4 separate regions of the Homo sapiens genome follow, and regions 2, 3 and 4 are each linked to region 1. The links are contacts of gene promoters, found by promoter capture Hi-C in human tissues and cell types (Jung and others, 2019). All regions are on one chromosome and are shown on one strand. Each heading gives the region's core, a stretch centred on a gene start or on the middle of the fragment in contact. The rest is flanking DNA. Distances are from core to core; before and after follow the strand shown. Region 1 holds the start of NEUROD2 (neuronal differentiation 2). Region 2 has its middle 13 kb from the start of PSMD3-AS1. Region 3 has its middle 24 kb from the start of STAC2. Region 4 holds the start of ORMDL3 (ORMDL sphingolipid biosynthesis regulator 3).

What was found. The method cuts DNA at HindIII sites, captures the fragments that hold promoters and counts their contacts. A contact is called where the count stands out against the background at its distance.
Region 2: a fragment that was not itself captured here is called in contact with the fragment with the promoter of NEUROD2 in region 1 in 1 of the 25 tissues and cell types used here (lymphoblastoid cells).
Region 3: a contact is called between a fragment that was not itself captured here and the fragment with the promoter of NEUROD2 in region 1, in 1 of the 25 tissues and cell types used here (spleen).
Region 4: the fragment with the promoter of ORMDL3 here is called in contact with the fragment with the promoter of NEUROD2 in region 1 in 3 of the 25 tissues and cell types used here (lymphoblastoid cells, spleen and thymus).

The regions. Positions count from the first base shown.
Region 1 is chr17:39,606,451-39,609,489 of GRCh38, forward strand. It overlaps NEUROD2 (neuronal differentiation 2), which reads right to left and starts at 1,470. Exons shown (of 2, transcript NM_006160.4): 1 at 1,278-1,470; 2 at 1-154. The coding sequence starts at 149. The HindIII fragment of the contact is 16,482 bases long and covers 1-3,039 here.
Region 2 is chr17:40,000,360-40,003,398 of GRCh38, forward strand. No RefSeq gene overlaps it. Among named protein-coding and RNA genes, the nearest start is that of PSMD3-AS1, 13 kb to the right of the region's middle. The HindIII fragment of the contact is 8,544 bases long and covers 1-3,039 here.
Region 3 is chr17:39,248,319-39,251,357 of GRCh38, forward strand. No RefSeq gene overlaps it. Among named protein-coding and RNA genes, the nearest start is that of STAC2, 24 kb to the left of the region's middle. The HindIII fragment of the contact is 6,399 bases long and covers 1-3,039 here.
Region 4 is chr17:39,926,351-39,929,389 of GRCh38, forward strand. ORMDL3 (ORMDL sphingolipid biosynthesis regulator 3) reads right to left here and starts at 1,251. Exons shown (of 4, transcript NM_139280.4): 1 at 1,134-1,251. It overlaps LRRC3C (leucine rich repeat containing 3C), which reads left to right and starts at 1,382. Exons shown (of 4, transcript NM_001195545.2): 1 at 1,382-1,464. It overlaps LOC124903999 (a long non-coding RNA gene), which reads left to right and starts at 370. Exons shown (of 2, transcript XR_007065750.1): 1 at 370-412; 2 at 578-652. RefSeq lists enhancers at 505-1,115, 1,116-1,727. The HindIII fragment of the contact is 12,451 bases long and covers 1-3,039 here.

The sequences.
Region 1 (3,039 bases), core at 220-2,719:
CCCGGAGCCCCTGGCCCGGGCGCAGGCGGTGGCGGTGGCGGCGCGTCGCCCTTGTCGCTCCTCGGCTCGTCGTCTTCGCCGTCGCCCCAGCTGGCGAACTTGGGCACGTCCGAGAGAAGGCCGGGCTCGCTGAACAGGCGGGTCAGCATGGTGCCTGAGGGCGCCCCGCGGGCGGGAAGGGGAGACAGACAGCACAAAGTGAGGGGCGCGCTGGGGTACCGACGCCCCCCCACAACCCTCCTCCACCCCCGAGTCTCGTGCGGGCTCCTGCCTAGGCTACCCTGGATGCCCACCTCCGCCGCCTGCCCCGCCCAGAGCCGGCCCAGCCCTACCCGGCTGCCGGCCTGGGATCTCGGCCCAGGCCCTCTCCCCGGCGCTGGGCCCCGGCTCCGCCCCTCGCTTGAATGGGGGGCTGCTCCCCGCGCCTGCTTCTTCTCAGGGTCAGGGCAGGGACCGGGTGGGGGTTTTAGGGACCAGATATCTTTGCCAGGGGAGGCGGCGCGCTCGCCCTGAAAGCCCGTTCTCTCCTGGCGGTGGAGAGAGGCTGGTCGGCCGCCGGTGGGGACAGCTGCCCCGCTCCGCGCTCTCGCGGCCCGGGCCCCCCGGCCCAGCTCCCTCACCCCTCCCGTGGCTCTCACCCCCACGCTCCCTAATCCAATTTGCAACTTGGCTGCGCGCCGCCCCTTGCTCGGCCCCCACCCCCGCACCCCCAATTCCAGAGGCGGGAGGATCGTCTCCTCTAGCCGATGCGTCCCCAGCTCCCGGAGCCGGCTCTGGGCGGCGAGGACTGAAGCAGCGGGGCGTGGGGAGGAGACTGAGAGAAGCGAGCCCAGTCCGTCCCCTCTGCGGTCAGGGACCCCCTTCCCCCTTCAAGCTGACTCCCTCCCACAAGGCTCTTCAGATCTCGTTGTATTTTGGGATTGATGGGGGAAAAATCCAAATTTGTTTGTTTGCTTCCCTTTTTTCGGTGGTGGGGAAAGGTGGCAGGCTTTTTGGGACAACCATGGAGGGGTCCTCCGTCTCGGCCTCTTCGCATATCCCCCTCCGTGATCCTGCCTTCCCCCCCCACCGAGCCCATCGCAGGCAGAGACACCTCCTCTGCAGCCCCCTGGGCTGCAGCCCCTAAGGGAGAGAGAACCTGGGGCCCCTCCGATGCCCACCCAATGAGGGGGGCATCATCCCAGGAAGGAGGTATTTGAGGACCCTCCTGTCGGCCGAAGCTGCCGCCCCTCCTCCCAACCGGCGGGTCAGATCTCGCTCCCTTTCGGACAACTTACCTCGGAGAGGAGTCAAGGGGAGAGGGGAGGGGAGGGGGGGAGGGGGCAAGAGAGAGAGGGGGGAGAAGAGGGATCTTCTCGCTTATTTCATTGTTCCCCCATCTTCAGGGAGCGGGGGCAGCGGCTCCTCAAGGCGGCGGGCGCCGGCGTCTTCAGAGCGCCATGCGAACCGCGGAGCGAGTGTGGCATCTCTACCAGGCGGGGTACCAGCCTCTATGCCAGGCCATATGGGCTTGGCACGTCACGGGCAGCAGCTATCACATGAGAGACGGTGATTGGCATGCGTCTGCACTGGGGGAGAGCCGGCTCCCCCGGGACCCGCCGCCATCTGTCACTCTCTACTCCAAAAAAAAAAAAAAAAATTAAATAAATAAAGGAAATAAATAAATATTTCTGCCGCCCTCCCCTCCCCGCCCAACGCAGGGAAAGCAGGGATTGAGAGGAAGGTGGGAGGAGTTGCCCCCTGTATATAGAGACCCCCTCACGGGAACAATGGGGTGGCAAGGCTGGACACTGGGGGCTCGTGGTGGCCAATTCTATGCTCCCTCAGGGTCCCGCTCTGTCCATTTCCTCCCCTGCAGGCCCCCAAGGTGGGTCAGGGACCAGACCCCGGGTTGGGGAGAAAGGACCTCTGTGCTTGCCCCCACTCCCCAGGAGGGTCCCCTTGGCCACAAAGGGACAGCTGAGACCCCCTCCCAGGATGGCTGTAAGGGGCGTCCCTGGCCCGAGCCCCATAGGTAGATGTTGGCACCATGCCATCCCTCATCCCTGTCTGCCCCTCCCCCACCCACCCTCACGCACACACAACATATGTGGCTAAACGAAATTCAAACCAAGGGAAAGACAGAGAAAGGGAAAGATGTGCCTGGATGTCTGTGCCTCTGCATGGGCGTGTGTGTGTCTGTGGGGACATGTGTGTATCTGTGGAGTCAGCCGATGGGAGATCTTTCCTTGGTTGTTGGGGGCGTATCCATGTTAGGGTGGAGTGGGGAGGGGCCGCGAGATGAGCCTGTGCACCACCCATCTGGGGGTGGAGGGGAGGGTCTAAGTCTGGATTCCTAACCTAGAAACCTCTCACTCTCCTCCTCCCACTGCCAGACAGGTGACCAGTCCACCAGCGGCTTTCTCTCCTGGTCTTCAGACTTGGTTATTTGAGGGAGGAGGAGCAGGCAGTGCTGAGAACTGCCTAAGTTCCTGGATGAGACTCAAGCATTCTCCTCCCCTTCTGAAAAATCTGAAAATACTGAAGCCAACCCCAGTAATCCCAAGAGTGGCCAAGGGGAGGTAGGTCAGACAGCTGTCTTGATAAGGGAGGTAGGAAGTTGCTGTTTTATCTTGTGGCTCACCTTTCAACACTCTCATTGGGCCAGACACAGATACAAATGGCACAGGTTGAAGAGGTGGCTTTGGACACACACACACACACTCATGCACACACACATACACACACACACGGATGCATACACATGCACACATATACCTGTTCCTCACCCTGTGGTGTAGAAAAATAGATAACATACCCCTACTCAGATAGACACATGTATGTGAGCAGGTAATCACAGCCTGGTGTAGACAGACCCTTGCCCACACCCCATTTGGAGCATTTGTATGTTTTAGACCCACATTTCTGCCCCTCCAGACACTCTAGCTGACATATATACACAACTTCAATTATACTTTCAGCACACACATTTTGATGTCTACCATGTGCCAAGCACTGTGGTGGTACAAAAATGAGCACGGGGAGGCCTTTACCCTCAAT
Region 2 (3,039 bases), core at 360-2,859, 390 kb after region 1:
AAGTTTGAGTCTGGAAAGAAGATCAAATCAGCCACAACATTCCTTTAAGCCAAAGCCTAGTCCGGAGAAAGGCCCTCACTCTCTTCAATCCTTTGAAGGCAGAGAGAGGTGAGAAAGTTGCAGAAGAAAAGTCAGAAGCTAACAGAGGTTGTTTTGTGAGGTTGAAAGAAAGAAGCCGTCTCTGTAACATAAAAGTGCAAAGTGAAGCAGCAAGTGCTGATGGAGAAGCTGCAGTAAGTTATCCATCAGATCTAGCTGATCTCACTGACGAAGGTGGCTACACTCAAAAACAGACTTTCAATGTAGACAAACAGCCTTCTATTGGAAGAAGATGCCACCTGGGACTTTCATAGCTACAGAAGAGAAGTCAATCCCTGGCTTCAAAGCTTCGAAGGACAGGCTGACTCTCGTTAGGGCTAATGCAGCTGGCGACTTTAAGTTGAAGCCAATGCTCATTTACCATTCCGAAAATCCCAGGGCTCTTAAGAATGATGCTAAATCTATTCTGCCTGTGCTCTGTGGATGGAACAACAAAGCCTGGATGACAGCCCATCTGTTCCCAGCATGGTTTACCGAACATTTTAAGCCACTGTTGAGACCAACTCCTTCGTCGGCTCTGTCGGCCAGGCTGGAGTGCCGTGGCATGATCTCAGCTCACTGCAACCTCTGCTTCTAGGTTCAAGCGATTCTCCTGCCTCAGCCTCCTGAGTAGCTGGGATTACAGGCATGAGCCACCGCACTCAGCCAAAAAAAATATTTTTTAAAGTTATTACTGCTGATTGACGATGCACCTGATTACCCAAGGGCTCTGATGGAGGGATACCAGGGAAATAATATTGTTTTCATTCCTGCTAACACATCCATTCTGCAGCCCATGGATGAAGAAGTAATTTCAACTTTCAAGTCTTTTTTAAGAAATACATTTTGTAAGGCTAGAGCTGCCATAGTGATTCCGCTGATGGATCTGGGTAAACTGAAAACTTAGAAAGCATTCATCATTCTAGATGCCATTAAGAATATTCATGATTAGGGCCGGACGTGGTGGCTCATGCCTATAATCCCAGCACTTTGGGAGGCTGAGGCAGGTGGATAAACTGAGGTCAGGAGTTTGAGACCAAGCTGGCCAACATGGTGAAACTCCATCTCCACTAAAAATAAATAAATAAATAAATAAATAAATAAATAAATAAATAAATACAAAACTTAGTCAGGTATGGTGGCACGCACCTGTAGTCCCAGCTACTCGGGAGGCTGAGACATGAGAATCGCTTGAATCCGGGAGGCAGAGGTTGCAGTGAGCCGAGATCGTGCCAATGCACTTCAGCCTGGGTGACAGAGTGAGACTCTCTCAAAAAACAAAAAAAGAATATTCATGATTAGGCCGGGAGTGGTGGCTGACACCTATAATTCCAGCACTTTGGGAGGCTGAGGCAAGAAGATCGCTTGAGCCCAGGAGGCCAAGAGCAGCCTGAATAACAAAGTGAGAACCCATCTGTATTAAAAAAATTTAAAAATTAGGCCGAGTGCAGCGGCTCACACCTGTAACTCCAGCACTTTGGGAGGATGAAGCGGGTGGATCACTTGAGGACAGGAGTTCGAGACCAGCCTGACCAACATGGTGAAACCACATCTCTACTAAAAATACAAAATTAGCCGGGCATGGTGGCGCTTTCCTGTAACCCCAGCTATTTGGGAGGCTGAGGCAGGAGAATCGCTTGAACCCGGGAGGCGGAGGTTGCAGTGAGCCGAGATCATGCCATTGCACTCCAGCCTGGGTGACAAAAGCAAGGCTCCATCTCAAAAAATTAACATTAGCAGGAGTTTGAAAGAAGTTGATTACAACCTTCATGGGTGACTTTGAGGGGCTGAAGACACACTTCAGTGGAGGAAAAAACTGCAGATGTAGAAATAGCAAAAGAACTAGAATTAGAAGTGGACCCTGAGGCCAGGCCCACTGGCTCACACCTGCAATCCCAGCAATTTGGGAGGCCAGGGCAGGAGGATAACTTGAGCTCAGAAGTTCCAAACCAACCTGGGTAACATAGCAAGACCTCGTCTCTACAAAAAAAAAAAAAAAAAAAAAAAAAGTGGAGCCTGAAGATGGGACTGAATTGCTGCCATCTCATGATAACATTTGAACAGATGAGTTGCTTCTATGGATGAGCAAGGAAAGTGGTTTCTTGAGATGGAATCTACTCCCGGTGAAGAGGCTGTGAACATTGCTGAAATGGCAACAAAGATTTAGGATATTACATATACTTAGTTGATAAAGCAGCAGCAGTTTGAGAGGATTGACTCCATTTCTTTCTTTCTTTTTTTTTTTTTTTGAGATGGAGTCTTGCTCTGTCGCCCAGGCTGGAGTGCAGTGCAGTGGCATGATCTTGGCTCACTGCAACCTCCACCTCCTGGGTCCAAGAGGTTCTCCCACCTCAGCCTCCCCAGTAGCTGGGACTACAGGTGCACGCCACCACGCCCAGTTAATTTTTTTCTATTTTTGGAAGAGATGGGGTTTCACCATGTTGGCCAGGCTGGTCTCGAACTCCTGACCTCAGGTGATCCACCCGCCTCAGCCTCCCAAAGTGCTGTGATTACAGGCGTGAGCCACCGCTCCAGGCCAGCATTGACTTCAATTTTGAAAGAAGTTCTACTGTGGGTAGAACGATGTCAAACAGCATCATATGCTATAGAGAAACCTTTCTAGAAATGGAGAGTCGGCCGGGCATGGTGGCTCACACCTGTAATGCCAGCACTTTGGGAGGCCGAGGCGGGCAGATCACCTGAGGTCAGGAGTTCGAGACCAACCTGGCCAACATGGTGAAATCTCGTCCCTACTAAAAATACAAAAATGAGACGGGCATGGTGGTGGGAGCCTGTAATCCCAGCTTCTTGGGAGGCTGAGGCAGGAAAATTGCTTGAATCTGGGAGGCGGAGCTTGCAGTGAGCCGGGATCGTGCCACTGCACTCCAGCCTGGGCAACAGAGGGAGACCCCATCTCAAAACAAAACAAAACAAACAAAAACACAAAAATGAAAAAAGAAA
Region 3 (3,039 bases), core at 272-2,771, 360 kb before region 1:
GATTTGTATAGCTAAAAGATATTTATTGCTTAGGAAAAACATGACTGAATAAATGCATCCTCATTAAATAAAAAATGCTCCAGTTTCTGTTGTCAGGGAGTTTATTAGAGGGAAAGGTAAGGCCCCCACTTTTCTCCACCTGCCCCTGGCATGATACAAGGCAGAAGGGCAGGTGCTTCCTGGACATCATCTGGCATAGGGCACCTCTGACTAGTCTGCTTGGCATCTGGTTATTCAGATGTTTGCCTTCCACCCCTCCACATGCCAGAGCTGGTCAGCTTGGCTTATGTACACAAGGGGGTAGGAAGAGGTAGATGTGAAGTCGGGTTTTAAGACACGTGTGGCCGGGCGTGGTGGCTCACACCTGTAACCCCAGCACTTTGGGAGGCCGAGGTGGGCAGATCATGAGGTCAGGAGTTCAAGACCAGCCTGGCCAAAATGGTGGAACCCCATCTCTACTAAAAATACAAAAATTAGCCAGGCGTGGTGGCGGGCACTTGTAATCCCAGCTCCTCGGGAGGCTGAGGCAGGAGAATCGCTGGAACCCGGGAGGTGGAGGTTGCAGTGAACTATCGTGCTACTGCACTCCAGCCTGGGTGACGAGCGAAACTTCACCTCAAAAAAAGAAATAAAACAAAAAAACACTTGGGTGTGCCAGACGCATTGTAGGCTGCTTGGAGGGTGAGGACCTGACTGGTCCTGCTGGTGCCTTTTTACTGCTTTCGGTGCAGAATCCAGATGGCTACTACTTGGTTCTGACCTAGGCCAGGGGAACTCCACTGCTCAAGAGACTGATAGCTTGTCTTCACCAGAAACCTTGTTAAAACACTTGGCTGACTCAACAGGCTCCAGGTGAGCCAAAGTATCTTGCATCTCACCCCGAGAGGAGGCAAGTAGCCTCCAGCTTCACTTTTCTTTCTGGTCAGCAGCAATGGCTGTTGGAAGTCTTCCTTACCCATTCGTTCTTCTGAGCTGGCCAAGTTTATGAGGCAAAAAAAAAAAAAAAAAAACTGGCAATGTGGAAAGAGCTTTTGCCATGAGCAGTGTTGGCTGGTGATCACTGAGAGTGTTAATTCATTTAAAAATTTTAAGCCCTTTTTAAATTAAAAGTTAATTTTTAAAAGGTATATACACTTAATGTGTTGTCCAATGTGTTGAACATTTAATGTGGTGTTCAGTTTTCTTGGCTTTATTGTCCCCAAGGGGAAATGTCTTCTGCTTAAACTATAAACTAGGGCAAAGGATGGGGTCTGGAACAAGGGAATAAATCAATCCAGCTGGATCTTTTTTTCACAATTAGTTTGGGCAAAACTAATTACTAAAGCCTCCAAAAGACCATTCAATATTCAAATCACTGTACCTACTAAAAAACTCAGTTCTAAGAGATTTAGGAAATACTATAGCTATTATCTAGAATTGAGGCTATGGGGCTTTTAGAAAAAAAAATTTAGACATATTGTTTCCTTAGTTTTAAGAGATGAGGTCTCTGTTGTCCAGACTGGTCTTGAACTCTTGGTGTCAAGTGATCCTTCCATCTAAACTCTCAGTAGCTGGGATTATAGGTGTGCACCACTGTGCTTGACTTTTTTTTTTTTTTTACCTTAAATTTTATTAATCTTTCCCTAAAGTCATAAATTTAATTTTTTTTTTTTTTTTGAGATGGGAGTCTTGCTCTGATGCCCAGAGGTAGAGTGCAATGGTGCAATCAATCTGGGCTCACTGCAACCTCCACCTCTAGGATTCAAGCAATTCTCCTGCCTCAGCTTCCCGCATAGCTGGGATTACATGCTTGCACCACCACGCCCAGCTAATTTTTGCATTTTTGGTAGAGATGAGTTTCATCACGTTGGCCAGGCTGGTCTCAAACTCCTGACATCGTGATCCGCCTGCCTCAGCCTCCCAAAGTGCTGGGGTTACAGGCGTGAGCCACCGTGCCTGGCCTACTTTTTTTTTTTTTTAATTTATAAAGAAAAGAGGCTCTTTTTTGGCCGGGCGTGGTGGCTTACACCTGTAGTTCCAGCACTTTGGGAGGCTGAGGTGGGCGGATCACCAGTGGTCGGGAGTTCGAGATCAGCCTAGCTAACATGGTGAAACCCTGTCTCTATAAAATATACAAAATTAGCTGGGCATGGTGGTGTGTGCCTGTAATCCCAGCTATTTGAGAGGCTGAGGCAGGAGAATCTCTTGAACCCGGGAGGCAGAGGTTGCAGTGAGCCCCGGGGTTGGTCTCCAAAAGAAAAAAAAAAAGGTTTGACTCAGTTTTGCTTTTCACGTTTAGGTCAGTAACCAACTGAAATTGATTTTTGTGTATCTTGCAGGTAGGAATCTAGTCCTCTTTTTCCATACAGAAAACCACTTTTTTTTTTTTTTTTTTTTCCTGAGATGGAGTTTCGCTCTTTTGCCCAGGCTGGAGTGAAGTGGTGAAGTGGCACGATCTCAGTTACCGCACCAGGCCCAGAAAACCACTTTTATATTAAACAGTAAACGCTTTCTTAAAAGACAAATGGTATCAGGTCATATCTTAACTGTTTTTTTCCATTCTCCCTCCCTTAAAGTTTTATTACGAAAATCTTCAAATATACAGAAAAGTATATTTGATGATTTCCAAATGCACAAAGTGGAAGACAAGTCATTTTTAAGAGACAAGTGCCCTCTTAAAAATTCTTGCATAAGCCCGGGCTTGGTGGCTCACGCCTGTAATCTTCAGCACTTTGGGAGGCTGAGTCAGGCAGATCACTTGAGGTCAAGAGTCAAGACCGCCTGGCCAATATGGTGAAATCCCATCTCTACTAAAAATACAAAAAAACCATAGCCAGGCCGGGCACGGCGGCTCACGCCTGTAATCCCAGCACTTTGGGAGGCCGAGGTGGGCGGATCACGAGGTCAGCAGATCAAGACCATCCTGGCTAACACGGTGAAACCCTGTCTCTACTAAAAGTACAAAAATGAGCTGGTCGTGGTGGTGGGCACCTGTAATCCCTGCTACTTGGGAAGCTGAGGCAGGAGAATGGCTTGAACCCGGGAGGCAGAGGTTGCAGT
Region 4 (3,039 bases), core at 1-2,500, 320 kb after region 1:
GAGATCAATAAACTAACAAAAAGACTGGCAATGAGGAAACACTCTTGAGACTTTCGTGTGACTATGGATACATATCACTTCCATTAGTAAAACAACCAACTGGCCCCTACCCTAGATGGGGAGAAACAGAGAGAAGAGGCTGGCAGAGGTCGACTAGGTCTACAGGAGTTGAGCCGAAAACTTCTGCTGCCATAGCTGGCAGGTGGCTGCTTAGTGCTGGGCCCTGATGTGGTTTCATAACCTGCCTCAAACCAGAGCCTGCAGCAACTCTGTTGTGTTAACCACTTTTTTGCTGGTAGCTCTTTCCCCCTCCTTCCCGCCCCACCCTCTTGGCTCCACATACAAATATCCGGGCCCAGCCAGTATGCCAGACACTCAAGCCAAGGCTGAGCACCACCAGGGCAGCCACCAGGTGAGCCCTTCCCATTCCCTCCCCCAGGAAAGAGCAGCCCTCACAACAGCAAACCTCCTGTCTTCTGGAAGAGGAGCACAAAACATCCAGGCCTGGATGGGGACCCCAACGGGGAGTCCGGGGCAGCACGTCACAATGCCATGTCCATTCCGCCCACCCCCCAAGCTGCAGGACCACAGCTGATAACCTCTCAACTTTGGCCCAGCCACCCCGACTGGGGGAGGGCGGTAGGAGCGGAAAGCGAGTGCCCAGGCGAACCCGCACTAAGCACAGGAGAGGAGGAGCGAAGAGGCGGAGTCCTCACTGTTGTTGGGGTTTTCTGAGTGAGACCTCGGGTGCGGGGCCGGGGGGAGGGGTCCCGCTCTGTTCCCCAGCCTGGGTCTTCGCACTCGGAACCCGGTCCGGTCCGGGACCCCACAGCCATCTCCACGCGTTCACCCAGCCCTGGAGGCAGCCAAACGTTTATCCCCGAAGCCGAGCCGCTCCCCGCCTCCCACCCCTAGCCGAGGCGCTCCTCCCGACGTTCCACCCCCGGCCTCCCGCTCGCACTTTATTCCTTGGCCACCTCCCCAGCCGATGCACCCCCTCGGCTGATGCACTCCCTCCACCCCCCACTCCCTCTGCCCCCGTCTCTCCAGCCCGGGGCGCCTCCCCAGCAGCCCCCACCTTCTCTCCCGCCCCTCCCGTAGCCCTGGGGCCTCTTGGTTCCTTCCGGGCTCACCGTGTGGGGCCGAAGATCAACGGCCCGGGAACGGTTCCCGGGAGCGGGGGCCGCTGCTGCTCCAGCAGCTGTAACAACCCGCGGCTGCAGCCTCCCCGCTGGCAGCTCCGGCCGAATCAGCGCTCCGCGCCGGTCCCCGTACGTCACCGCCCCGCGCCGGCACGCCCGACGCCTTCTGGGAGTTGTAGTTTCTTCCGCTGGCTCCGGGCCGGCCCTCCCGACGCCTCCTGGGAGTTGTAGTTTTTCCTGGGCTCCGTTCCCGGCCTCTTCGGGGACGCACGGTTGGAAGTTGTACCGTGACGTGATGGTCAGATCGGATGATAGAATTTTGGTGCGTAACAATTCCAACTTTTGCTTCTGTGCCCTTCAAGTGTATTTTATCCGTGCCCCAGTTTTGCAGATGAGGAGACTCGGACTTGTAAGTAACTTTCTGTAGGTCTTTGCTGGGTCCTAGACTGGATCGAAACCCAAATATTCTGACCCCAACTGCAGGATTTTTCCACTGCACCTGGCTGCCTCCGCCCTGGCCCCAGATTGGCTCCTCCAGAAACAGACTAGCCCGGCCCTTTGCCCTGCTGGGCCCTCCTGGGAGAGCGCTTTTCACAACATTGGCTGGGATGAGGGTCTGGAGGGCCCGGAACGGAGCCTGCCTTCTCCTTCTCAGTCACGCTTGGCCCAGGCTGCCCCGGACCGGGCCACATCCTTGGCCGCCCCGCACCTGACGTGAGAAGAGGCTACGTATCATAGATTCCTCCATCAGTAGTAAGGAGCCTGAGTTTCTGTCTCAGGTCAGCTTGTGTGGCTTTGAATGAGAGGCTCTGGTCTGCAGTTTTCACATCTGCATCGTCTAAAGGCAAGGGCACAGACTTTACTGCCTGGTAGACATGGGGTAGGCCCTCCTTTATTGGCAGTGTGACCCTGGGCAAATTACTTGTCTTAATCTCCAATTCCACACCTGTGAAACCCCACCTCCAAGGTTGTGGGAACCCAAAAGAATGTATGTAAAGCACCTGTTGCATTGTAGGAATCTACTTAATATTACTGTAGGAGGTTGAACTAAATGGCTCTTGAGGTCTCCTCGGTTACTCCCATTCTCCATGTCACCAAGAGGTCTTGTCTGGGTAGTTTCAACTCCTTACCCAGCTTCTTTCTAAGTCCACTCTATGCAGGGCAGGGCTGGAATAGCAAGGTCAGATGATGTCATGGCATGCCAACCTGACTCTGAATGGCAGTTCATGGCACCCTGAACTGAAAGTGAGGGAACAGGAAGGAAAAGGCTAGCCCAGGGAAACTGCGGAGCACTTTACTCGGACTACACCTACCTTTCCTTCCCCAGGGGGCTGCCAGGAAACAGTTGTCACACAGCTGGAGTGGGACCCCCAGAGGCACTTAGTGGTCACCAGGCAGGTGGGTATTTGAACCACCCAGAGCAGAACAGGCAGCTTCTTCAATATTTCCAGGGCCAATGGCCCCAAAAGGGCTCATTCCAAGATCGAAATAATCATCTGAGTCTGAAATAGCTCTGCCTATGTCCTGTGGAAGTTTCTCCTGGTTTGTGGAGGTGCCTTTCCTTATAGTCATCTTTCTGCAGACATAAGCAAACCCAGTGTTGTTCTTTTCACAGAAACCTCCCCAGCATTAAGGCAAGAAAGGTGTCTCTGTTTTTTCCGAAGTGTGCCTGCTTGACTCCTTTGATTTTTCTCTGGGATTCTTCATCCTCCATCAAGTTGATCGATCCCTCTGGATCTTGGTCAGTTTCCTGACATCTCTATGAAGTTCAGTGACCCAGACTGAGTCCACGTCTCAAATAAGGTTCTGACTAATGCAGAGTCTAACAGAAAGATTACTGAACATGTCATGCACTATTAATAACTCCTGTTATCGAGGATTTTTTTTTCACAATAGG